Regions from separate parts of the Homo sapiens genome. Here all the other regions are linked to region 4. Evidence: promoter capture Hi-C in 16 types of primary human blood cells and fetal thymus (Javierre and others, 2016). All regions are on one chromosome and are shown on one strand. The core of a region is centred on a gene start or on the middle of the fragment in contact, and the rest is flanking DNA. Distances in the headings are between cores, read along the strand shown.

Evidence for each region. Contacts are between HindIII fragments. The CHiCAGO score rates a contact against its expected background, and 5 or more counts as called.
Region 1: a contact is called between a fragment that was not itself captured here and the fragment with the promoter of ZCCHC12 in region 4, in 3 of 17 cell types (M2 macrophages, activated CD4 T cells and M1 macrophages). The highest score is 7.6, in M2 macrophages.
Region 2: a contact is called between the fragment with the promoter of WDR44 here and the fragment with the promoter of ZCCHC12 in region 4, in 3 of 17 cell types (naive B cells, naive CD4 T cells and activated CD4 T cells). The highest score is 5.6, in naive B cells.
Region 3: a contact is called between a fragment that was not itself captured here and the fragment with the promoter of ZCCHC12 in region 4, in 2 of 17 cell types (M1 macrophages and M2 macrophages). The highest score is 5.5, in M1 macrophages.
Region 5: a contact is called between a fragment that was not itself captured here and the fragment with the promoter of ZCCHC12 in region 4, in 3 of 17 cell types (activated CD4 T cells, M2 macrophages and M0 macrophages). The highest score is 6.5, in activated CD4 T cells.
Region 6: a fragment that was not itself captured here is called in contact with the fragment with the promoter of ZCCHC12 in region 4 in 1 of 17 cell types (neutrophils); the score reaches 5.3 in neutrophils.
Region 7: a fragment that was not itself captured here is called in contact with the fragment with the promoter of ZCCHC12 in region 4 in 1 of 17 cell types (neutrophils); the score reaches 6.1 in neutrophils.

Annotation. Positions count from the first base shown.
Region 1 is chrX:119,259,326-119,262,880 of GRCh38, reverse strand. No RefSeq gene overlaps it. Among named protein-coding and RNA genes, the nearest start is that of PGRMC1, 25 kb to the right of the region's middle. The HindIII fragment of the contact is 1,130 bases long and covers 882-2,011 here.
Region 2 is chrX:118,343,957-118,347,539 of GRCh38, reverse strand. WDR44 (WD repeat domain 44) reads right to left here and starts at 1,434. Exons shown (of 20, transcript NM_019045.5): 1 at 960-1,434. The coding sequence starts at 1,036. RefSeq lists enhancers at 759-1,302, 1,844-1,893, 2,084-2,203. The HindIII fragment of the contact is 5,332 bases long and covers 1-3,583 here.
Region 3 is chrX:119,176,248-119,179,819 of GRCh38, reverse strand. No RefSeq gene overlaps it. Among named protein-coding and RNA genes, the nearest start is that of KIAA1210, 50 kb to the right of the region's middle. The HindIII fragment of the contact is 3,827 bases long and covers 368-3,572 here.
Region 4 is chrX:118,821,772-118,825,073 of GRCh38, reverse strand. It overlaps ZCCHC12 (zinc finger CCHC-type containing 12), which reads right to left and starts at 1,250. Exons shown (of 4, transcript NM_173798.4): 1 at 1,069-1,250; 2 at 684-735; 3 at 361-485. The HindIII fragment of the contact is 2,857 bases long and covers 1-2,744 here.
Region 5 is chrX:119,243,122-119,246,690 of GRCh38, reverse strand. PGRMC1 (progesterone receptor membrane component 1) reads right to left here. Exons shown (of 3, transcript NM_006667.5): 3 at 2,225-3,540. The coding sequence ends at 3,437. It also overlaps the pseudogene AKAP17BP. Among named protein-coding and RNA genes, the nearest start is that of PGRMC1, 8.6 kb to the right of the region's middle. The HindIII fragment of the contact is 1,024 bases long and covers 1,388-2,411 here.
Region 6 is chrX:118,399,495-118,402,932 of GRCh38, reverse strand. All of the region lies in intron 8 of WDR44 (WD repeat domain 44), which reads right to left. Among named protein-coding and RNA genes, the nearest start is that of MIR1277, 15 kb to the right of the region's middle. The HindIII fragment of the contact is 5,488 bases long and covers 1-3,438 here.
Region 7 is chrX:118,451,121-118,454,696 of GRCh38, reverse strand. No RefSeq gene overlaps it. Among named protein-coding and RNA genes, the nearest start is that of DOCK11, 43 kb to the left of the region's middle. The HindIII fragment of the contact is 3,040 bases long and covers 375-3,414 here.

The sequences.
Region 1 (3,555 bases), core at 197-2,696, 440 kb before region 4:
ATAATAGATTGGAGACTCCAAAAGCTGGGAGGGTGGGAGGGAGGTGAGGATTGAAAAATTACCCACTGGGTACAATGTACACTATTCAGGTGATGGGTGCACTAAAAGCCCAGATTTCACCACTGCACAATACATGCATGTAAGAAATTGCACTTGTACTCTCTAAATATATAAAAATAAATTTTTAAAAAGGAAATGTACAAAGTATTTAATAAAAAGGGAAAGTTTATTCTTCTCCTATAGTCCCAATCCATTTTCTAGGGGAAATATTGTTAACAATTTGATGTATATTCTTCCAGACATTATATATTATGTCTGTGTGCATGGCCATGTGTGTTTATATTACTTTTATAAGAGCAATATCATATGTTACTTTATTATTCTGTCACTTGCTTTTTATTTTTTCCCTAAAAACTATCACAGGCATCCTTTTTTGTCAGTAAATACAGATCCACTGTCTGGCTCCCTACCTCCCTCCCTACCTCCAAAAGGTGGAAGGGTGGGAGGGAGGTGAGGATTGAAAAATTACCCTTTGGGTACAATGTGCACTATTCAGGTGATGGGTGCACTAAAAGCCCAGATTTCACCACTGCACAATATATGCATGTAAGAAATCTGCACTTGTACTCACTAAATATCCAAAAATAAAATTACTCCCTCCCTCTGTTCCCTTCCTTCTCCTCCTCCTCTTCCTCCTCCTTCTTCTCCTATATATTTTATTAGCTTTTGACTTGAGGTCTCCTTAAGGAAGAAGCATCACAATGGGAGTTGGTTGTTGTGCACCTATGTACCAGTCACTATGCTAGTTAATTTTTAATGACTTAGAAGAAGTTGCCAATGACACTTCTATAGCAATGAAGCCATGCCGTATATAAAAAGCTTACTTCTTGGTCATACTAGGTCCTCAATATTTTTTAAAAGTAAGATTAGAGAATTAGCCCTCTATTTTGGGAGAGTAATTTAAGATGAAATATTTATTGACATTCAATTTTAAGATCTAAAGCCTGTGAACCACTATGAAAGATATGAGAAGAACAAATGCCTCAGTTTCTTGTCATTTTTGTCCTTGGGAAACAGGAATTTAAGTTGTGAGGATTTTAAAGGAGGTCAGTTTTTTGTTTTTTTTTTTTTCAAAAACAATTGGGTCTTCTTGGGAAAATCAGTTTGTTCTTATAGTCATCCATTTTATCCAACATTCTTGATTATACATAATTTGTGATAATTTCTAAATATCAAATCCATGATAAAGGAATTTAGAAATTGGCCTCCATGAAGCTACTTAAAATAATGTAACCCAGGCTTTGAAATCAATCCAAGAGAAGCATTCTACAGTGTTTTAAACAAAGGCAGTATTGCTGGAGCAAGTGGAGAGCTTGACAAACCTGATTACTTTGAAGAGAGTAATTCTGTTTTGGGTGAATATTTTCTGGAATTTTTTTAAAAAAACTATTGCTTTATATTAGGTTGTATAAATAAATACCTAATGGTTATAAATAAATTTTAGAGTTCAGTATATCTTAATTGAATATCACATTAATTTTTCTCCTAGAGGGGGCTTAGTGTTGACTCTTATTGCAAATTGCAGCAAACTAACTGGATTTTTTCCATTTTGCTACATAGATAATGCTTTTGGAGAAAGAAAACATGTTTCTTCTCATATCATCCCATTTCAGTGTTGCTGTCATAAGGGTTTCTAGAACATAGTATCTTAGATACTGCTTTTGATGACCTTTTATAAAATCAGTCTCTACAAACCTTGCCTTCTAAAGGAAGTTAACTTGGATTGTCCTTTAAGGGTAGTTATTAAATAATTCTGTACCTATAAAGTTAGCCAAGATTTCGCAGTAAATTTTGTGTTAGAATTTCTGTCATCTGGCCATATATGTTTGGCTCTAAATTTCCCTAAAGTTGACGTTAATGAGAAATTCTGGTGACATAGAGTCTGAATATATCTGCTCAGAAAAAAACTCCTTTATTAGGAAGTGCTATTTAAAGTAAGCAAATAGAAGCTTAAATCTCTAATTCCCAGCATTAGTGATCTTGTTCACCTTAGTACTGCTTCAAAGAGTTTGTTAATATGAAGTAAACAGGAAGCACTCATGTTTTGGGGTTTTTCCAGTCCCCAAGTAGAGGGCAAATTCACTTTGTCACTCATTAGAAAAGGCTGTCTCTTCTTAACTTTAACTTAGAGATCAATTTAGTTAAAGTCAACAGACTGGAGGAACAAGAGTAGATATGTCCATTTTAGACTTGGAAACCAACGTGGACAAGGGATGCTAAGTCAGGTGCATGGGTTAGAACTATAAGTTCTATGTATGTTCGGTGCATGTTCATTAATGTGCCACCCTTGCCCTGTTTGTGTACCATCCCCAGCAGATTTTTAATGGAACTTTACATTTAAGATCAATTGTACAATAGATTAGAGATTTAGAAAATCTTGGCTTCTCAATGTATGGGCAAGTCATTTAATTTTCCTGAAACTGTCTGAATTTCCCCATCTGTAAAACAGGCAGGCAAATACCTACTCACGGGTTGCTTCATAAATCAAATGAGATAAAGTAAGACTACTACCACTAATAGATAATATTATAACTTATGTTTATTGAGAACTTCCTGTGTGCCAGGCACATTCTAAGGATTTCACCTGTACACACTCATTTAATTCTCCCCCAAATCTTATTATCTCTATTTTATGGTTAAGGAAACTGAGACACAGTATATACTCTTTGAAAACTCTAAAAAACATTAAATATTATTAAGTAAATATTACATATTATTATTATTATTCCCTTATAGAACAGATATTATTATTTTTAATAGGCTTTATTTTTTAGAGAAGTTTTAGGTTCACAAGAAAATTGAGCATAAGGGACCTGGCGTGGTGGCTCACGCCTGTAATCCCAGCACTTTGGGAGGCTGAGGTGGGTAGATCACCTGAGGTCAGGAGTTTGAGACCAGCCTGGCCAACATGGTGAAACCCTGTCTCTACTAAAAACACAAAATTAGCCGGCCGTGGTGGTGCACACCTGTAATCCAAGCTACTCAGGAGGCTGAGGCAGGAGAATCACTGGAACCTGGGAGGCGGAGGTTGCAGTGAGCTAAGATCACGCCACTGCACTCCAGCCTAGGCGACAGAGCGAGACTCCCTCTCAGAACAAAAAAAAAAAAAAAAAAAAAAAAAGAAAAAAGAAAAAAATTGAGCAGAAGGTAGAGAGGTCCCATATACTCCTGCTCCTACACATGCCCAGCTTTCCCCATGATTAACGTCTCCCACCAGAGTGGTTATAGGTGTGACAATCAGTGAACCTACATTGACACATTATCATAACCCAAAGTCCATAGTTTACATTAGGGTTCAATCTTGGTGTTGAACATTCTGTGGTTTTGGACAAATGTATAATGACATGTATCCATCATTACAGTATCATGCAGCATAGCTCCAACTGCCCTAAAAATCCTCTGTGCTCAGCCTATTCATCCTTCCCTCCCCTCTAGTTCATGGCAGCCACTGATCTTTTTACTGTTTCCATAGTTTTGTCTTTTCCAAAATGTTAT
Region 2 (3,583 bases), core at 185-2,684, 480 kb after region 4:
GAAAATATATTTCACTGCCTCTATTTCCACGTACATTCGTAGGGGAGTTCGGCGAAATCGCTTTAAAGCACTACCCCAACTTTGAAAAGTGGAGAAGTGGGTAAGTAAATACAAGTCCTAGTCAAGCGAGCATTCCAACTACTGTACTTCCTATTCAGAATCACCCATATTAATCACCACTAAAACATCTTGCAGAATTAGATAAAGAACACAAAGCTGGGGCTCTCCTTCCAATCACCAGATTACTCAGCACTTGTTTGTCCCTCTGCAGTCAGTTGTGCACATTTCTTCTGTCTGGCCATCCTTTTAGACCGCATTCTGCCTAATAGGGACCGTGTATTCGATTTCCTTTACCTCACGATAAGGTGTTATTTTAATAAAACACTGTTGATCTAGAGTACATTCGCTAGAGGACTTTCTTAAGCAAATACCCAACCTTCCCCCCGCTCCTTTTCGCTGTGTGCAAGAAAAAGAGGACGGCAAATAGGGGAGAGTTACAGCCACCTCTGAAGTGAATAGGTAAGTTAGCGGTAAACGGGAGAATAAAAAACTACAAGTTACATTTCTCCTGTTACTGCTCCTTTAATCTACGGTCCCCGAGGCCAAAACGGATGTTTGAAAGGTAAGCTCAGAACCCCACAGATACAAATCTCCGACTCAGGCACGTAAGCTGTTCCCCCTCACAGAAGGCTGGATCAGAAGAGAAACGGGCTCCGAGACCGACCCTGGGACCGTTCAGTAGGGAAACGGCCGGGAGGCTGCCCGAGGTGGCTGACTCCCCCTTCTCCGAGTCACCCCGCCCTAAGAAGCCCCAGGTCTGGGTTCTGAAGTCCTCCAGTGAGACGGGGAGGAACAGCGGTGGCGGACACAGCGGGACCTGGGAGGGGTGTAGGGGGAAGACACAGGAGATGCGGGGGGCTTGGGATGCCCGGCTTCCTGTCATAGCTGCAGTCACTTACCCCACGGGGTAGCCGCCCCCTAGGTGCACATCTTCAGGGGCATCATAGAATTCCTCGGTGTCGCTTTCCGACGCCATTTATAGGACACACCCGCGGGTGAGGGGGCCGGCGCCGCCTGGAGGAAGGGTGACTCTTGTCTCCTCCTCGTCGACCTCCACCCGGGCGAGACTGGGGAAGTGGGTCTCGGGCGAGGCTGAGGGAGCAGACGATCTGTAGCGAGGAGACTGTTAAGGAAAGGGGGCCGCCCTCAGTTGCCGGGCTTCGGGAATGACCGGCAAAGCGGCCGCCTGAAGAGGCGGCGGTTGGTCCAGGGAATGTTGCTGCCACCGCTCCCAGTGATAGGTGTATAAGGAGCGCGAAAGAGGCGGTGGCTCCTCGCAGTAAGGGAAGAAGGGCGCGCCGGCTACAGCGGCTCCAGTTTCTCCCGCAGCAGCAATTTACAGCAGCTGGAAGAGCTAGTTGCCCGCAAAATACCGACGCGCACCTACCCTCGCGAGATTTCGGAGGGGCGGTAATACGTGGGCGGGGCGAAGAGGTGGCGGGGGCGGTTCCAGAGAGGCAGCGCTCCGATTACTTCGGCCCGAGAAGCCTATCAAAACGGCGCAAGCGCGTTGAGGGCGTTCGGTGAGGGCCGGAAGTAGCCGAGAAGGGAGGGGGTGAGCCTCCCGAAGGGAGGAGTCTAGGACCTGCGCAGGAGCAGCGTGGTGCCCTGGCTCTGAGAGCGCGCGGCCGACGTAGGTGGGGTCAGGCAGAAAGTCTTACTCCCTAACTCTGCAGTTCCAAAGAGACGCGTTTTGAGAGGGGTGATTTTGAGTCGGTCTTTTACTTGTAAAGAAATACTCTCGGGAAACGTTGGTGTGGACATTTTGGCGTATATTTACGATGTCTTACTATCCAAGCCCGGAATGTCCCACCCTAGGGCGTCGGCAGGTCCACCACCTCTGGCGTTACGAGAATAACTCGCCCTTATTCACTACGAGATCTCTAATTGAGATCCCTAGATATGATCCTGCCGGCCAGAGGGTGGGGTCCTTGAGATATACACGGGGAGTGTGCCAGTTCCATGGTGTAATGATGGATTTATTGCTGGAGCTGAGCCAGTATTAGGCCTCCGGTTACTTTTTCTCCGCACATGTCTGTCGCTGCCAACACAGTGTGAGAGAAGTTCTTACATACTGCCCAAGATGTGCGTCAGCTAAATGGTAAATATTTATTGAGCAGATATCATTGCAAGCCTACGAGCTAATGGCTTAATTCTGATCCTCAACTGCCCAGCGTCCGGTGATAAAAATAGAAAGGTACTTTTTAAAAAACCGAGATGTTCCTTCTTAAACCACGGGTCATTGACCATCAAGGTGATAACATTGACTTTCAGTATGATCACACAGCATATTTATTTCTCCAACTGACATCATGATAGGCATTTTGAGCTGTTCGTGCAGCCTCAATTAGTATTCAAGAAAAGGCTGGATTGGAGCCAGGGGTATGGTCTCAGAGAAACTGGAAAGGGGCTCTAGACTTTGTCAAGCAATCAGGGCAAGGTCTGCTGTGGTCTAGTGGACTTGGGTAAAAACCAAATGTCATATACTGTATATTCTATAATACCCCAGGGAGTTTAGGGAAAACACTGCGTAATCAAATATATTAATATTTTTGCAGCAAGATATATGATTGTTCATACGGGATAAATAAATACAAGTAAATAGCCTCATTCAGTTTGAGTCAGACGCTTCTGCCAAATAAGTTTAAGATAGATCTATTTGACTGTCAAATAAATTACTAAAAAAAAAAAAAAACAGAAACTTGGTTTCCAGAGCTTTTGAAGTTTCAGAATTGGAGACAAGGGATTTGTGGATCCTTGTGAGGGTATGACTTTTGTCAAACCTAAAAATTATTAGGTTTTATGTGTCTTAAACATGTTAATTAACTTCCTAGGTATAAAAATGTAACTCAAAGTACTAACTTTTAAAAACGTTTTGCTCACTAAGATAGGTTTTTTTGTTTTCTTTTTGGATTATGGAAAGATACCAGATATAAGGTAGGGAAATATATATTTATGGAAAGATGTTAACTACCTGAATGTATTCTCTTCCTAGATATCTAATAGTGAATTTATGGCTTCCAAAGAAAAAAAAGTTAGTTTTCTCTATATGATAGAGGTGTTAGTTCCAGGCGCGGTGGCTCACGCCCGTAATCCCTGCACTTTGGGAGGCCGAGGCAGGCGGATTTCTTGAGCTCAAGAGTTTCAGACCAGCCTGGGCAACATGGTGAAACCCTGTCTCTACAAAAAATTCAAAATTTAACTGGGTGTGGTGGCATGTGCCTATGGTCTCAACTACTGTGGAGGCTGAGGTGGGAGAATCGCTTGAGCCCAGGAGGTTGAGGCTACAGTGAGCTGAGATAGCACCACTACACTCCAGACTGGGCAGCAGAGCCACACCCTGTCTCTCACACACACACACAAAAAACAACAGCAACAACAAAAACAAAATGCCGTGTGTGGAAACCAGTCGCTCAGTTCAGTAAACATATACAATTTGGTGTCATGAAGCGTTCTAGATGCTGAGGACAATTGACAGATTAAAAAGACAACTAGATCCGGCGCGGTGGCTCACACCTGTAAT
Region 3 (3,572 bases), core at 1,032-3,531, 350 kb before region 4:
GGGATCAAGTGATCCTTCCGCCTCGGCCTCCCAAAGTGCTAAGATTACAGGTGTGAGTCACTGCACCTGGCCCTGTCTGTCCTTCTGCACTTGAATGGACCAAACACATTTTTATCACAGCAAGATCTCTGCACTTGCTCGTCCTTCTGATATAATGCCTTTTCCATGGCTGGCTCCTTCTATCCATTCAGGCCTCAGCAGAATGTCACCTCCTCAAAGAAGTCTGTCCTGGTCACCCTATCTAAAACCATAACCCCACCCTAGTCTCTCCTTATCACCTCCATGTTTTGTCTACTTCATAGCACTCATAGATGCCTGCTATTACCTTCTTTCTTTCTTGCCTGTTTTTTTCACTAAATTGTAAGCTTCTTGTGGACAGGGACTCTTTCTTCTTCAGTGTTGGATCCCTGGTACCTACCATGGTGCCTGGCATATAGCAGGTATTTTCTGGATATTAGTTGATGTTCCAGTTGAATGACTGAAGGTGAGCTTGAGACTCTTTTTGTTAAGCAAGCACTCCAGATGATTCTGGTGCCCACTCAAATTTGACAACAAATGACCAAGTGCCACAGATAGAGAAATAGAGACTGGGCTGAATGTGATGTGCTCAAAATATTCTCCACTTCAATTTTTTTTCCACTCTCTTGTGATATAAAAAGAGATAGCTCATTTTCCTATAAGGGGTTGAGGCAAGCCAGGAGAAAGTTGCTGGTTATTTGAAGTCACTGGTCAAGAAGTTTCTAGTTCATTGAGGTTCAGGTCTGGCTCCAAGGGAATTAAAATATTTTTGTATTCCAGTCTGAGAGTTTATTACAGCACATCTATGACTTTTCAATCCATTCCTGACTTACATTCATAACAAAAACCGGTGTGATCTCCCTGTGTGCACAGCAGTTAGCAGTAGAGATTTGGCAATCAGAGTGAACCCAATCTAAAATTGTTTTAAAAATTCATCACAGCAGGCTAGGTGCGGTGGCTCACTCCTGTAATCCCAGCATTTTGGGAGGCTGAGGGGGGTGGATTATTTGAGGTCAGGAGTTTAAGACCAGCCTGGCTAACATGGTGAAACCCCATCTCTACTAAAAATACAAAAAATTGGCCGGGCGATAGTGGCACAAGCCTGTAATCCCAGGCTACTCGTTAGGCTGAGGCAGGAGAATCGCTTGAGCCTGGGAGGTGGAGGTTGTGGTGAGCTGAGATCTGCACTCCAGTCTGGGTGACAGAGTGATACCCTGTCTCAAAAGAAAAAAAAGTGTCACAGCACTCAGCAAAGCATATGATTTCCACATGCCTAAGGAAAAGTGGACTTGCTGCATTTCTTCACCAGCTCTGTGCCCTTCCTCATGACTGCCATATTTACAGCTGGATCCAGATTGCATGGAAGAACCAGCTGCTTTGTTAACACATGGGTTCCTGGTTTGGCCCCACAAGCGTGGCTATTGCCTTGGCATCTGGCACCAGGCTGGGGATGGAGAGGCAGTGATATAAAAAGAGATTCAGGCCGGGCGCGGTGGCTCACACCTGTAATCCCAGTTCTTAGGGAGTCCGAGGTGGGCGGATCACGAGGTCAGGAGATCGAGACCATCCTGGCTAACATGGTGAAACCCCGTCTCTACTAAAAATGCAAAAAATTAGCCGGGCGAGGTGGCGGGTGCCTGTAGTCCCAGCTACTCGGGAGGCTGAGGCAGAAGAATGGCGTGAACCCGGGAGGCGGAGCTTGCAGTGAGACTAGATCGTGCCACTGCACTCCAGCCTGGGCGACAGAGCGAGACTCCATCTCAAAAAAAAAAAAAAAAAAAAAAAAGAGGTGGGAATTGAACAATCAGAACACATGGACACAGGAAGGGAAACATCACACACCGGGGCCTGTTGTGCTGGGCGACAGAGCGAGACTCCGTCTCAAAAAAAAAAAAAAAAAAGTGGTGGGAATTGAACAATGAGAACACATGGACACAGGAAGGGGAACATCACACACTGGGGCCTGTTGTGGGGTGGGGGGAGGGGGAAAGGGGGAGGGATAGCATTAGGAGATATACCTAATGTTAAATGACGAGTTAATGGGTGCAGCACACCAACATGGCACATGTATACATATGTAACAAACCTGCACGTTGTGCACATGTACCCTAAAACTTAAAGTATAAAAAAAAAAAAAAAGAGAGATCCGGAGGATCACAGGACTGCACAGTGATAAGTTGGTGACAGAGGGGCTCCTTGGAGAGTTGTTCAAAAGGCAGGGTCCTGCTCTCCTCCTGCAGTGGCCAGATGGCTGGGTGCTGAATGTCCCTGCTCTAATGGCCTCTGTAAGTGTGACCCAGAGTGCATATGCCACCATTTCCCATCTGTGGTTTCTCACAACCTAGTCTTGTCATCAAAGGCAGCTGGAGCCTGCCCTTGAAACCCTGGGTCCTGGGCAGAACAATGGGACCAAGAGAAAAATGGGGCCAGTGTCCTCCAGAAGGGCCATTGTTGGAGAGATATTAACTGGCTCTTTGGGCTCTGGGCCCCACACAATTTGTCATCTGTTGACCCTTGCTCACCAGGCCCCCAAAACCTGTGGCTCTTTGCATATGTAGTCTCCAGGGTCCCAGAGGAATGTGACTGTGACCAATGGCAGTGGAGTCTGTTTTGTGGGGGTAGTTGGACTTGTTCTGAGCATGCTGGTTACTCTCTTCTTATGGTTTTTGTTATATCCACTAAATAAGGATTCACTTTTATTTTTTATTTTAAAAATTTCATCCAAGAGACACTCAAGATTCGATTTAGGTAAAATCAGATGTTCTGTGTTGCTTATTTACCAGGAGTTGTGGAGGTTTCTTTTGGTCTTATTTGTTTGGTGCTACTCAGCTGGCATCCTTATTAAGTACCACTTACAGAATTTCAAAATAAGGATCAGGGTATATTCTGAAGAGCAGATTACAGGGCTCCCCTCACAGTGTTGTAGACTGGCTGGACTTCAGAGAGCATCCTTTAGAGGGTTGGGCTGGTTAAAATGCCTTCATGGCCTTCTGCATAGAAAAATTGTTTAAAGAAATAACCAAAGTTATTGTAAACAAAACTAATTGAAACAAGGGAATAGAGAAGGAGTAGGTTTTGGGAAGGATGGCTACCACTTCTCCATTTGCTGCTAACATGGTGCTAAAGTAGGACTTCCATTTGGAGAATCTGAGAGAGGGAACAATTACCATTTGAATGGTGAAGCACTGATTCAGTGCACTCAATTAGGGGTAACATCATCACACTAGTGGGAGTGGCAAATTGATGGCCAGCCCTGAGTGAAGATTAGAGGCAGGTATCACACTCTGTGGTCATTTCCTTCTGGCCTAGCACACATCCAGATGAAATTTGGGGAAATGCACATCAAGGACAGTCATAAAGGGAAAAAAGAAGGCATGGAGATATCACTAACGCAGATTAAAGAAAAGAAAGAGGATGGGCAACCTACACCAGTGTGTGCGACCGGACAGAGCAGACTTCTAGGTCTTTCTAAGCCCAGCGGAGACTCCACTGTCTTCTTATCTCCACCTCCCTTCTACTTCCTCCTCCCTACCTACTGCCCCCTGGATAGTTTT
Region 4 (3,302 bases), core at 1-2,500:
TCCTACCTGAATATCCTGCAGTACATTTTATATTTGCCCACTACCCTAAAAATAATCCTGTAGGAGATTGACACTTACAACCTCCCAGAGCTACCCGATGCCTGCGTGCTAGCAAGGTGCTTTTTGCAGCCACATCCATCCCTCCCACCAGTCCTCCAAGAGGGACGGTAACTGTTGCTTCAAATTCTAGGTGTAGCAGTGTCTGGAGCTGATATTGGGCTCTCCAAATAGAGTACAATGATCGCAGATTTGTGGAAATAAAATAAGATCTCATTAACCTCATGGTCTCTGGTCTCAACCACACCCCCTTCTCAAAGTGCCCCCCACGCCCGTCCCCCTTGTTATTTCTCAGATTCTTACACGAACTCTGAAACAAGAGCGCGTCTTTATTTCACTTCCAGCCTCTGCAACCAGTGCCCTCCGTGAGAAAGCTCCTCTCCGGGGTACGGTCAACCTCTGTCCACAGGGGGTCGCAGATCCGGGTCCTTGAGGTTTCAAGATTGCGCCACAGCGGAGAAGGCCAGAGAAGGGAAGGGTTAGAAGCAGCTTCACCCGTCATCCTGCTACCCACCACCTCCGCTGTTGCCAGGCGAAAAATTCTCTCTGCCCCCTCCTGACTATAAGCCAGAGACCAGCCCCCCACCCTCCAGCATTACATTTCCCCCGGGAAGCCGTCGGCCTACCAGCTCTGCAATCAGCTGCACAGAATTCAAGTTCAGATGCGGCTTTGATGGCCTGCCACGGAGAAAGGGAATAGGAGTTGGACACACCCACCCACATATTCCTCCCAGAAAGAGATGAGGAGATGCAAAGGATGTTCGAAGCAAACAGCTCGAGATTCCTCCCCCCGCTACTCCTCGCCTCTCCTCCCACCCCCAAATCCAGGCAAATCCTACCTAGCCCGCAGTATCCAGGTGAACCCCACCTCCTCCCTCAGCGCAGCCGGGCCACGAGAGTACTCCTACCCCTGCCTCACAGTCACCGATTCTCCAAGCTGGGAGCCGCCCAGTACTGGTGGGTCTTCCCCCACCCCTCTCCCCGCCGGGCAATCACACCCCCATTCTTTACCTGTGCTCCGCTGGTGGACAGCAGATGCTCCCGCGTCGCCAGCTGTGGATTCCGCCTTCTGGTCTCCGCCTTGCAGGCGGCAAAGAACTGAAGCCTCCTTGGCCGCTAAGCGACCCGGGGCTGCCCGAAGGAGCTGCTTCGCAGGGCCGCCCAACCAGGGGTAGCAGAGACGAGGCAGCGCCGTTCCTAAGGCAGCCGCGGCGGCTTTTATCCTCTGCCAGCTGAGACAAAAGAGCGTGACGAGCGGGCTAGTGCGGCCAATCAGCGAAGTGCGGGGGCGGACGCCCCGCACAGCCTTGGGCAGAGGCGAGTTTTCGCCTGAGGGGGCGGGGGCGCAGCAGGCCCGCGGAGCGTCAAGTGCAGCTTGATTAGACCGATGGAGCCAATCTGCCTGGGAATTTGCGACTCTTTCTTCCTCCCCCAACCCGTCCCTTCTCCCTGGGCTCAACTCTGCATCTTAGGCCAGGTGCATTAAACACGAAGTGGGTCCAAAATCAAGTGAATAATAAAAGTTCTTCACCTTGGTATAGGGAAAAGACGGGGAAGAGGGGAAGGGGCGGGAAGAGCATTAGCACGTGCATTGCGGAAACAGGCTTTCACACACATCTCCTCTTTTACTGTGAAAGAAGTAGCAGTATGTCCATTTAACAGAGAGGAGAGCTGGAGAACAAGGCTCTCAACCAATACCCATTCAAGTATGGGGGCAAGACATCAGAGTCATTTGGGGGAGCTTGTTAGAAATGCAGTCTTCTGGCCGGGAATGGTGGCTCACGCCTGAAATCCCAGCACTTTGGGAGGCCGAGGCGGGCGGCTCACGAGGTCAAGAGATCGAGACCATCCTGGCCAACATGTTGAAACCCCGTCTCTACTAAAAAGACAAAAAAAAAAAAAAAAATCAGCTGGGCATGATGGCGCGTGCCTGTAATCCCAGCTACTTGGGAGGCTGAGGCTAGAGAATCTCTCCAACCTGGGAGGCGGAGGTTGCAGTGAACCAAGATCGCACCGCTGCACTTCAGCCTGGCAAGGGAACAAGACTCCCTCTCAAAAAAAAAAAAAAAAAAAAAAAAAAAAAAAAAAAAAGGAAAAGAAAAGAAATGTAGGCTCTGGGCCCCAACTCTGGTGGATTCAGATTTACTAGGACTAGCGGTTGTGATGTGGTTTTGTATTTAGTATTTTTAACCGGCGCTGCGGTTGGTTCTGAGTTGTAGCAAGGTTTGTGAATAAGTAAATGAGCCTGTCTCCAATATCTGTCCACAGGTATCTGTGGTGAAATGCAACTCCAGAGCAGATGTGCCTACCTGGAATCCATGATCTTCCTGAAATTGTATGCAAAGATTTCGGACTCTGTATGAAGCTAAATAATGGCCACCCAAATGTATCAAGTCCTAATCCCTGAAACCTGTAAATGTTACCTTATAAAGTAAAATGGTCTTTGCAGGTGTGATTAAGTTAAGGCTTTTTGACTTAATTTTCCAGGCAGGCTGAAATCTAAACCACAAGTGCCCTTATAAAAGAGGGAGAGTTGGTGCACCAAGAAGAGAAGGCAATGACCAGAGATTAGTGATGTGGCCATAAGCAGAGGAATGCTAGCAGCCACCAGAAACTGGAAGAGGCAAGGAATAAAGCACAGTCCTACTGACACCTTGAATTCAGCCCAGAGAAACAGATGTTAAGCTTCTGGCTTCTAGAACTGTGAGAAATTAAACTTCTCTTGTTTTAAGCCAAGTTTGTGATAATTTGTTACAGTGCTGTTTTAGTCTGTTTGGGGTGCTATGGCAAAATACCATAGACTGGGTGGTTTATAAACAACAGAAATGTATTGCTCATAGTTCTGAAGGTTGGGAAGTCCAACTTCAAGGTGCCAGCAAGGTTGGTTTCTCCTGAGGCTTCTCTCCTTGGCTTGCACATGGCTGCCCTCTTGCTTGGCCATCCTCTCTGTGCATATGTGCCTCTGGGTTCTCTCAGTGTGTCCAAATTTCCTCTTCTTATAAGGACACAAGTCAGATTGGGGCCCACCCTAAGGGCCTCATTTTTACCTTAATAACCTCTTTAAAGGCCCTATCTTTAAATACAGTCACACTCTAAGGTACTGAGGGTTAGGATTACAATGAATTTGGGGGAACATAATTCAGCCTGCAGCACTCCATTTTCCCTTACTTCTGGTTCTGGGAAAGCAAGCCTTCCTTCTCTCATGTAAAGTGTGGTTAAGAGACTCCTGTGGGAACTTTGGGGGG
Region 5 (3,569 bases), core at 650-3,149, 420 kb before region 4:
ATTTTTAAATAAATGCTGATAAGTCCACCTTTGGGGGAAAGTTCCTACTTACAGTATGCTGCTTTGCACTAATGTTGCTGATCTCTTTTCTCATTTGCATTGTTAGAGAATACATATTTGTCAGATATATTAAAAATAAAATTATCATAGTGAATATTCTTTGTTCATTTATCACATGTATTGGCTAGCATGTTGCACATCCACAATAACATTTTCTGTGGAAATATAGATGCCTAATTTTAATATCATTTCTATGCAACTTTTCCCATTTTGTGGAAACTGACATTGTCAGAGTTCATGGGACTAAAGACCATAGTTTTATTTTCATTTTGGACAAACCGAAATAATGTTATTTAGATTTAAGATGATCCTCCCTTTAGCACATTTTATCAGTGCTAATAAGAGGTAGCAAAATTGACTCCATGGAATTTCACCTAATTCCTTCAGCCCTGGGTGGAAGTGTTCAAGTTATACAATGTGCAAAAACAATTATGGGTTTGGGATGGACAGTCTAGTCAGAGAAGGTAGGGGCCTCAATAATCAGTCTTTGACCATTCAAGAGTTAACTGTATTTTCATGTGAAATATACAGCAAACTGCCTCTAAGTATCATAACAAAGGCAGACTACCTTGGAGTAAAATCTGGGCACTTTAGAGCTGAAAGCGTCCGTCAGGTTCAAAGAGCTCTTTCTGAAACAGCAAGAAATGTATTGATGCTTGTTCTTGATCTAGGATTTGCATAAATTTGGCCCTCTGAAGTAAGGTGAATGTTACATTATGCAGGGAAGCCAGATATGCAGATACTGAAAACACGTAGTAAATGCTGCTTATGAACCACAGACGCTAGTTGAGAACAAACTGTCTCTGCAGCTGGTAGGATGACAGCAGGTGGGGAGCAAGCCAGATGTTAACCTAACACCTCCCTCCTTCACTGGACATGTGGTGGTTGTAACAACTACCCCCCCTCCCCCCGACACCACCATCTTCTTGAATGGTGCCTTTTACATGAATATGGCTTATGTATATGCTAGCTGGATTTGAGAAGTTTTTAGATCAAAGTCCTGCCTTACAGCAATATTCCTTTCCAAGTAACCAACACAATGTTGATTCAGCTCTGAATGGAAGAGAATCAGGTTATTGGGAGTGAAACTTTAGTGAGGCTCTAAATCAGGGGTGCCTAATCTCTTCGCTTCCCTGGGCCACATTGGAAGAACTGTCTTAGGCCACACATAAAATACACTAACACTAACGAGAGCTGATGAGCTAAAAAAAAAAAAAAAATTGCAAAAAAAACCTCATGTTTTAAGAAAGTTTACAAATTTGTGTTGAGCTACATTCAAAGCTTTCCTGGGCCGCATGCAGCCCGTGGGCCATGGGTTGGACAAGCTTGCTCTGGATATTTTCCTCTTGGCAGCAGACAAGCCTGTTTAACTTTGCAAAATGAGTAGCCTAATCTTCACATGCACATGAGATTTCAGGCTGCGAAGGTGGGCCCAACTTCTCTCCCCCACTCCTTCTCCAAAGCATAAGGCATAACAGGTTACATGGCACAAAACAGGCACTCAAACATTTGGTGAATGAAACCAAGTGGGAAAAAAAAAGAGCACATTAAAAAAAACTCACAAGTACCTGCAATGTGGTTTGATAACATGAAAAATGGAAATTTCTTTGGTTCAGGAAGTATATCTCTTATAAGAAAACTCTGCCAATGTTAACATTAAAATGACAAAACACTAATAGGTTGTCTTTGTTTATACAACTGACTGCATATGCAAATCTGTTATGCTTCTTTTGACACGAGGTGAATTAACTTTGCTACTGTAAGGATTCCTGATACTTTCCTGATCAGACAATACATTAACACAAAAAAACCCAAACCCTTCCTTAGCACTTGGCAATGACAATGCCTTCAGTAACCTTACTTCTTAAGAACCTTGCTATAGACTTCAAGGTGGAGGTCTGCCATTTACAGTTTAGAAAGTTCTGATTTAGGCAAAACTTTGACAAGTCACAAAAAAAGCAATTCAATTCACTATTTCTTAAACAGGACAAGCTGGTATTTGGTTTTTGGTGTGGGGTCTCCATGAAATTTTGCCCCTTGTTTCTTTTGGAATACAAAAACTCTGCACTCAAAAATGAAACTGAATTTTAAGCCAAAGTAAAATGTCTGAATCAGATTCCCTAGAATAAGGTTTTTAAAAAAATTTAAATAAGTCACCACACTATAGTGGGTAAAACCATTTTTATTAACTGACCAAAGCACATCATTTTGTTTTCTGATTTGAGGTAAAATCATAAAACACAGTTCACAAGAAAATACAATGACTATTTAACCACAATTACAAGTTTGAAATCTCACTAGGTGTTCATATACTTTTACAAATTCATACAACTGTATAGTCTACTTAAGCTTAGTGTTAACCAAAAGAGCAATATCAAAGACCTAGACACTTGACTACTACTTTTGCAGTGGGTATAGTTTTATAACAACAGAATAACTGTTACCTTATGAATATACTTTACTTTAAAAACCACTTGACTAGCGACTGTACTGTTTCCTCGTGGTTCAGGGGTGTGCATGAAGGCTCTTAGGAGAGCAAACACCTGTTCCTATTCTGTATGTCCCTCCCTCATTTCAAATGAGAGTAACCAATTGAGTAAAATAACCAAATAACCATTGCCCCACCATGAACATGGGGCTTGGGAAGACAGTCCTACAATCTTCATCATATATTTAGGTTTTTAGGCCAGCCAGCTCTTTTTTTCCAAAGCTTTCTTTTGAATGTTCAGATCCTATTTTAATCCTAACTATAGACTACTGTGTTTGTGAGGGTGTCTGAGTGTCTATGTGAGGGCAAGGACAACAGTGCAGTCCAGAAACACAGAAAATATGCTTTTTTGCAGCTGAGCTCTGTTTTGAGATTTCATTTTGTTACTGGACAGCGCTTAATCCATACCAAAGTCTTTGGAACACTGCAGATTTGCTTTAGAGGTAGATAAAACAGAAATCATGCAGTTAAGTCAATTGAGAAAAAAAAAGGGATTTGTTGTCTTTACAGAACATCATGACTAAAAGTTGATCCTTTGCTCTTGGTGCACATTTAAGATTTTTACCTGTTTTGGGAAATACCCAAGTCTTCCTTGTCTCTCAGGAAAAACACATTTAAATTCATCCTGTACTAACTACAGATAGAAGAAAAACAGTATTAACATGTGTATTACAGCACTGCAGTTCACTTTCTGGATTTGTGACACACAAACACATCATGCATTCTAAGAAGTTAATTTTATTAGTGTCACTAGTGATGTTAATTAAAAAACTTATAGCAAGTGCTCAAAACTTTCTAAATATTGTAATCACTATGTTTTAAAGACAGAGTGGACTGTTACAAATGATTTTGCAAAATACAAAAATAGATATACTTCCACTGAATGCTTTAATCATTTTTCCGGGCACTCTCATCTTTTGGTTCTTCCTCATCTGAGTACACAGTGGGCTCCTCCCCCTCCTTCAGCAGTTTGCCCACGTGATGATACTTGACTGGAGGTAGAGAAGAAAACACAAATGGT
Region 6 (3,438 bases), core at 669-3,168, 420 kb after region 4:
CCATGGATAAGAGGGAACTACTGTAATATCTCCACAGCACCTGGAACTTTTCTTTTATAGCAATCACTACAAATGTAGCTAGACTTATCTGTGCAATTACATGTTTAATGCCTATTTCTCCCATTTAACAGAAGTTCTATGAAGGCAGAGACCACGAATGTCTTTTTTATAAATTGTTTTTAATTGAGACAGAGTCTTGCTCTGTTGCCCAGACTGGAGTGCAGTGGCATGATTTTGGCTCACTGCAGCCTTGACATCCCAGGATCAATAGACCCACCTGCCTCTGCCTTCTGAGTTGCTGGGATTACAGGCACACACCACCATGCCTGGCTAATTTTTGTATTTTTTGTAGAGACGGGGTCCTGCCATGTTGCCCAGGCTGGTCTTGAACTCCTGGACTCAAGTGATCCACCTGCCTTGGCCTCCCAAAGTGCTCGGATTACAAGCATGAGCCATTGCACCCATCCTGAATGTTTTTTTTTTTTTTTTTTTTTTTTGAGACAGAGTTTCACTCTTGATGCCCAGGCTGGAGTGCAAAGGCATGATCTCAGCTCACTGCAATCTCTGCCTCCTGGGTTCAAGCAATTCTCCTGCTTCAGCCTCCCGAGTAGCTAGGAGTACAGGCGCCCACCACCATGCCCAGCTAATTTTTTGTATTTTTAGTAGAGATGGGCTTTCACCATGTTGGCCGGGCTGGTCGTGAACTCCTGACCTCAGGTAATCCACCTGCCTCGGCCTCCCAAAGTGCTGGATTACAGGCATGAGCCACCACGCCTGGCCTCTTAATGTCTTAACTGTTATATCCCAAGCACTTAACTCTCATATCTGGCTCTCAGAAAGACTACAATATATATATTATTAGTGCTGATATAAAGAGATGTCTATGATATATTTGATTTTCTAAAAAAAAACCAAAAAAACAAAAAAAACAAAAAACAGCAAGTTGACAAACTATAGACATAGAGTAGCCCCGCTTTTACGAGAAAAAAAAATTCTATGGCGAATACACCATGCTATTAAAACTGATTTCTGGATTGGCTAGCCATATGTAGAAAGCTGAAACTGGATCCCTTCCTTACATCTTATACAAAAATCAATTCAAGATGGATTAAAGATTTAAACGTTAGACCTAAAACCATAAAAACCCTAGAAGAAAACCTAGGCATTACCATTCAGGACATAGGCATGGGCAAGGACTTCATGTCTAAAACACCAAAAGCAATGGCAACAAAAGACAAAATTGACAAATGGGATCTAATTAAACTAAAGAGCTTCTGCACAGCAAAAGAAACTACCATCAGAGTGAACAGGCAACCTACAAAATGGGAGAAAATTTTCGCAACCTACTCATCTGACAAAGGGCTAATATCCAGAATCTACAATGGACTCAAACAAATTTACAAGAAAAAAACAAACAACCCCATCAAAAAGTGGGCGAAGGACATGAACAGACACTTCTCAAAAGAAGACATTTATGCAGCCAAAAAACACATGAAAAAATGCTCATCATCACTAGCCATCAGAGAAATGCAAATCAAAACCACTATGAGATATCATCTCACACCAGTTAGAATGGCAATCATTAAAAAGTCAGGAAACAACAGGTGCTGGAGAGGATGTGGAGAAATAGGAACACTTTTACACTGTTGGTGGGACTGTAAACTAGTTCAACCATTGTGGAAGTCAGTGTGGCGATTCCTCAGGGATCTAGAACTAGAAATACCATTTGACCCAGCCATCCCATTACTGGGTATATACCCAAAGGACTATAAATCATGCTGCTATAAAGACACATGCACACGTATGTTTATTGCGGCATTATTCACAATAGCAAAGACTTGGAACCAACCCAAATGTCCAACAATGATAGACTGGATTAAGAAAATGTGGCACATATACACCATGGAATACTATGCAGCCATACAAAATGATGAGTTCATGTCCTTTGTAGGGACATGGATGAAATTGGAAATCATCATTCTCAGTAAACTATCGCAAGAACAAAAAACCAAACACCACATATTCTCACTCATAGGTGGGAATTGAACAATGAGATCACATGGACTCAGGAAGGGGAATATCACACTCTGGGGACTGTGGTGGGGTGGGGGGAGTGGGGAGGGATAGCATTGGGAGATATACCTAATGCTAGATGACGAGTTAGTGGGTGCAGCGCACCAGCATGGCACATGTATACATGTGTAACTAACCTGCACAATGTGCACATGTACCCTAAAACTTAAAGTATAATAAAAAAAAAAACAAAACTGATTTCTGGGGCTGAGATTATGAGAAACTTTCATTTTCTATTTTACATATTTCTGTATTTCTTTTGATAACCAGAAAACACAGATGATAAACCATTTTTAAAGCCATTATAAGGTCTCTGCTACCTATAACTCTGAAGCTGTATTTTCTGGATAATTATAAGTTTACTACCACTTTAAAAGCCAAGAAAACAGACATTTTAATTATTTCAGATGGTAATAGTTCTAAAGTATCTACTTTTATGCCTTCTTAAATGGCACTTAATGTTCCCTAAATTTCATTCCTTGATGGATAAGATCGTTACCATCATTTTGGTTCTTTAATACATTCAGAGCCTTTCTAATGCATTGCAGGTGGGCCATACTATTGGTTCCCCACTCAGCCTTCAAGGCAACAGGGCAGGGCCCAGGGAAGCCTGGGCCAATCTTCTCTGGCCATCAGCTGATGGCCAGCTTACCCCAACATTCAGTGCAAATACTATTATGTTCTCTGTGTGTCAATGGCATAAGAAAAGGTTGAAAAGCACTGTGGTACAATGATTGTGCTATGAGTTTTTTTTTTTTGGTGGGGGGTGTGGGGGACAAGGTCTTGCTCTGTCACCCAGGCCGAAGTGCAGTGGTGTGATCACGGCTCACTGCAGCCTCGATCCCTCAGGCTCAAGCAATTCTCCCATGTCAGCCTCCTGAGTAGCTGAGACCACATGTGTGTGCCACCATGCCTGGCTAATTTTTAAAATTTTTTGGTAAAGAGTGAGTCTACCTGTGTTGCTCAGGCTGCTCTCAAACTCCTGGGCTCAAGTGATCCTCCTACTTTGGTCTCCCAAAATGCTAGGATTACAGGTGTGAGCCACTGCACCCACCTATATTATGAGTTATTTTATCATTTTTCTGATTACCTGACATTCTTATGTGTCAACTTACATGTTGTCACAGTTTGCTGCTTCTATTTTGCAGTAAGCTCAGACACTGAACAGAGTTTTAAAAAAAATGATGTAAGAAATAAGCATAATGGCTTTGAATAAACCTGAGGAACTTTTCTCTTAGAAAAATAATGAGCTTTAGTGCATGGACTATGTGACATCTCTTCTGGATGTTTATCTGTCCCAGAATAATTGTAGTAATTCCTTATTCTCAGGTTCCCAATAACTGCAACTACTAGATGGCCAAGTTC
Region 7 (3,576 bases), core at 645-3,144, 370 kb after region 4:
AGTACACCACTGGCTGTAGGCCTTGGGCAATTCGTGACCCTACTTGTCTGTCTCTTGGCCTTTACCTGAATGAGTTAGCTGCTTAAACTTCTATTCCTAGCTCAGGGATTCTTAAAGTTGTTGAAAACAGGTTCCTGCATCCCTTCTCCAACAGACTGTGATTCAGTGCACGTTAAACTAATTCCCAGGTGCTTCTGAGGAAGGCATAGCAGACCACAATTTTAGAAGTCCCCATGGGGTTGAAAGGAGATGACTTGGAAAAAGGAAAAACAAAATATCCTGCTCTTGACGTTAGTGCACAAGAGTGAAAGCTTTCATAGAATTGCTTATAAGCTTAAAATAACTCCTTTCCCTAATGAAGGTGCATGGAAGCTTGGCTGACTTAATGGTTTATCTAACGGTTTATTCGACTGATTAGTGAATGACCATGTTAAGGCAAAAACTGACCCAAGGAAGTCAGTTTCCAATGTCTCTTCAATTACTCTTTTTCATATTGTTGTATGCACTGCAGCAGACTCAATTCAGATCAAATATTTGTTGAACATTACTTACAAGGACCTGTGATTGACTTTCACACGTATTCTATGGGTGAAATCACTCCATAATAATCAATAAAGTGGAATGATTCTCTTCTGTATCTGCTTCAACTTGATCTCCTGTGGATTTTGAGGCTTCCCACCACCTTCCACTCCCATTGCCACCTGTGTCCGTCCCAGCTGCTGCTGCTTCTCCAGTTGTCTGTACCTCTCGCTGCCATACCACTTCATCACTCCTGCTCTTGCCACACACAGAGCTTCATTCTGACCAAGTGTGCCTTTCTTTTTTGCCTCATGCAAAACTCACTCTAGAGAAGACTGTCCTAATTAAGGACTCTGACTTAACAAGGGTAGGTTCAATTTAAGTTCACTTTGGCCATACTTAAAATAGTTGAGTTTTTTTTCCCCCCCGAGACAGAGGTCTCACTCTGTCGCCCAGGCTGGAGTGCAGTGGCACCATCTCGGCCCACTGCAACCTCCAGAGGCCTCCTGGGTTCAAGCAATTCTCCTGCCTCAGCCTCCTGAGAAGCTGGGATTACAGGTGCGTGCCACCATGCCCAGTTGATTTTTGTATTTTTAGTAGAGACAGGGTTTCACCAATGTTGGCCAGGCTGGTCTCGAACTCATGACCTCAGGTGATCCACCCGCCTCGGCCTCCCAAAGTGCTGGGATTACAGGTGTAAGCCACCGTGCCCAGCCAATAGTTGAGTTTTTACTAATGTTCTAGGCTTAGAAAACAGATTCAGTTCTAATTTGCACTGCTTCACTTTGTTTTGTAAACAACTTAGGTTTCATGGTTCACTAAAAACTTAATATTTGCAACCTGCTCAGAGGTTCAATAGAATAGCGCAATTCTTTCTTGCTTCTTGGTCCCCTTTCTGTTTGGTTCTGGTCCTAAGAGAAGCAAAGCACTGACATCTGTTGCAATGTTCCTCCCCCTCTCCAAGTAGGGATGGTGAAAATCTAAGGCATTTTCTCCTAGCAATTTTAAATTATGCTTTTGGTCTTCTTATCCAAATAATATACACTGCAGTATTTTAAATGTTGGGTACCACCTAGAGGAGACAGTGTATACTGATCCAGTTGATGAACATATTTTGAGAAAAAAAAAATCAGGGAAAATGCTTCTCAATATACCGATCTTGTAATTAGATGTTCTAGGAGTAGAACTCAGTCACTGATTGTGCCATTCTGATGCCACAGAAGATCACAAGTTATGTCAGCAGGAATTTGAATAAATGAATGAGAAAGTGAGGAAATCCTCAGCTGCACTGTTTCTGAAGGACTGCCGGCAAGCACATGGACCACATGGACCATCAGAGTTAGAAATCTTAGTCCAAGGACTTCATTTTAATAGACTTGCAGAGAACTACTTATCTTTCCTGAAGTCACAAGGCCACCACAACCAGGACTACAAATTGGGGTTCCCAATTTCTATGCAGGAATTTCTTGTAATTCATACATCGCTTATTCTTTTTTTTTTTTTTTTTGAGACAGGGTCTCACTCTGTTGCTCAGGCTGGAGCACATGGAGCACAGTGGTGTGAACATGGCTCACTGCAGCCTCGACCCCCTGGGCTCAAGCCATTCTCCTGCTTCAGTCTCCCTGTTCGCTGGGACCACAGGCATGCATCACCACGTCTGGATTTTTTTTTTTTTTTTTTTTTTTTTTGTAGAGACGGAGTCTCACCATGTTGCCCAGGCTGGTGCTTACTGTTAAGAGTTCATGCTTTGTACTTTCATTTTAAGGACCTACCACCTTCGATCAATAATTGGAAATTCTGACAAGATATATATTTCTCTATCTCTGATTGTTATTCACAGTGATAAAAAACAGGCACAACCTGAATGTTTGATGGATTGCTTAAATTGTGCCCATATGATGGACACTACCTCAGCCAGGTGATAAGAACGTACCCTCGATGTGATGTAATGAAAAGAGCAATTCACTTCCTTAAAGTCCACAACCCCAGCTGAATCATGAGAAAAACATTAGACAAACCCAATGTGAGGTACATTCAACAAAATACTTGACCAGTACTCCTCAAAACTATCAGGGTCATCAAAAGCATGGAAAGTCTGAGAAATTGTCACGGCTAAGAGGGGTCTAAGGACACATGATGACCAAATATGGGTAAAAACTAGTGAAATCTGAATAAAGCGTGGAGTTTAGTTAATTATACCAATATTGGTTCCTTAATTGAAAAATATAACATGGTATCGTAAGAAAAATAAGGGAATATAATTACTTATTTCAAAAGTCAAGTGTATTCATTTTAATAGACTATTGGTTGCTCTAAGATTATGTGATAGTGCTTGGCCTATGTTTTTAGCATTAAAATGTTTTATCTTTTATGAAGTGGGGATAGTAGATGGTGTCTGTTAAAAAAGTGTTAAAAAATGTCTGTGCCCTATGTCAATCCCTAAAATGCTGTGTGTCCATGAAATCCCTATGTCTAGAAAGCGTTTCTGGCTGGACGTGGTCGCTCGTGCCTGTAATCCCAGCACTTTCGGAGGCCGAGGCGGGTGGATCACCTGAGGTCGGGAGTTGGAGACTAGCCTGACCAACATGGAGAAACCCCATCTCTACTAAAAATACAAAATTAGCTGGGCATGGTGGCGCATACCTGTAATCCCAGCTACTTGGGAGGCTGAGGCAGGAGAATCGCTTGAACCCAGGAGGCGGAGGTTGTGGTGAGCCGAGATCGTGCCATTACACCCCAGCCTGGGCAACAAGAGCAAAATTCCATCTCAAAAAGAAAGCGTTTCCATATATCGTCTTTTTTTTTTTTTTTGGTCTGAGAGAGTACTCACGGATTTGCGAGAGGCAGCAAGAAATGTACATCTGTTGAGTATACCTACTGGTTAGGCACCAAGCTTTACACATACATGATTTCTTAGCAAATCTTTGCAATTTAAGTTAGGTATTCCCATATTACAGATAAGGAAGTAGTAGTAATGTAGGATAAATAACTTGCCCAAGGAATGTGCTAACGGGAAGGAAGCAAATCCAAGTTTACCTGACTCTAGAACCTGTGATC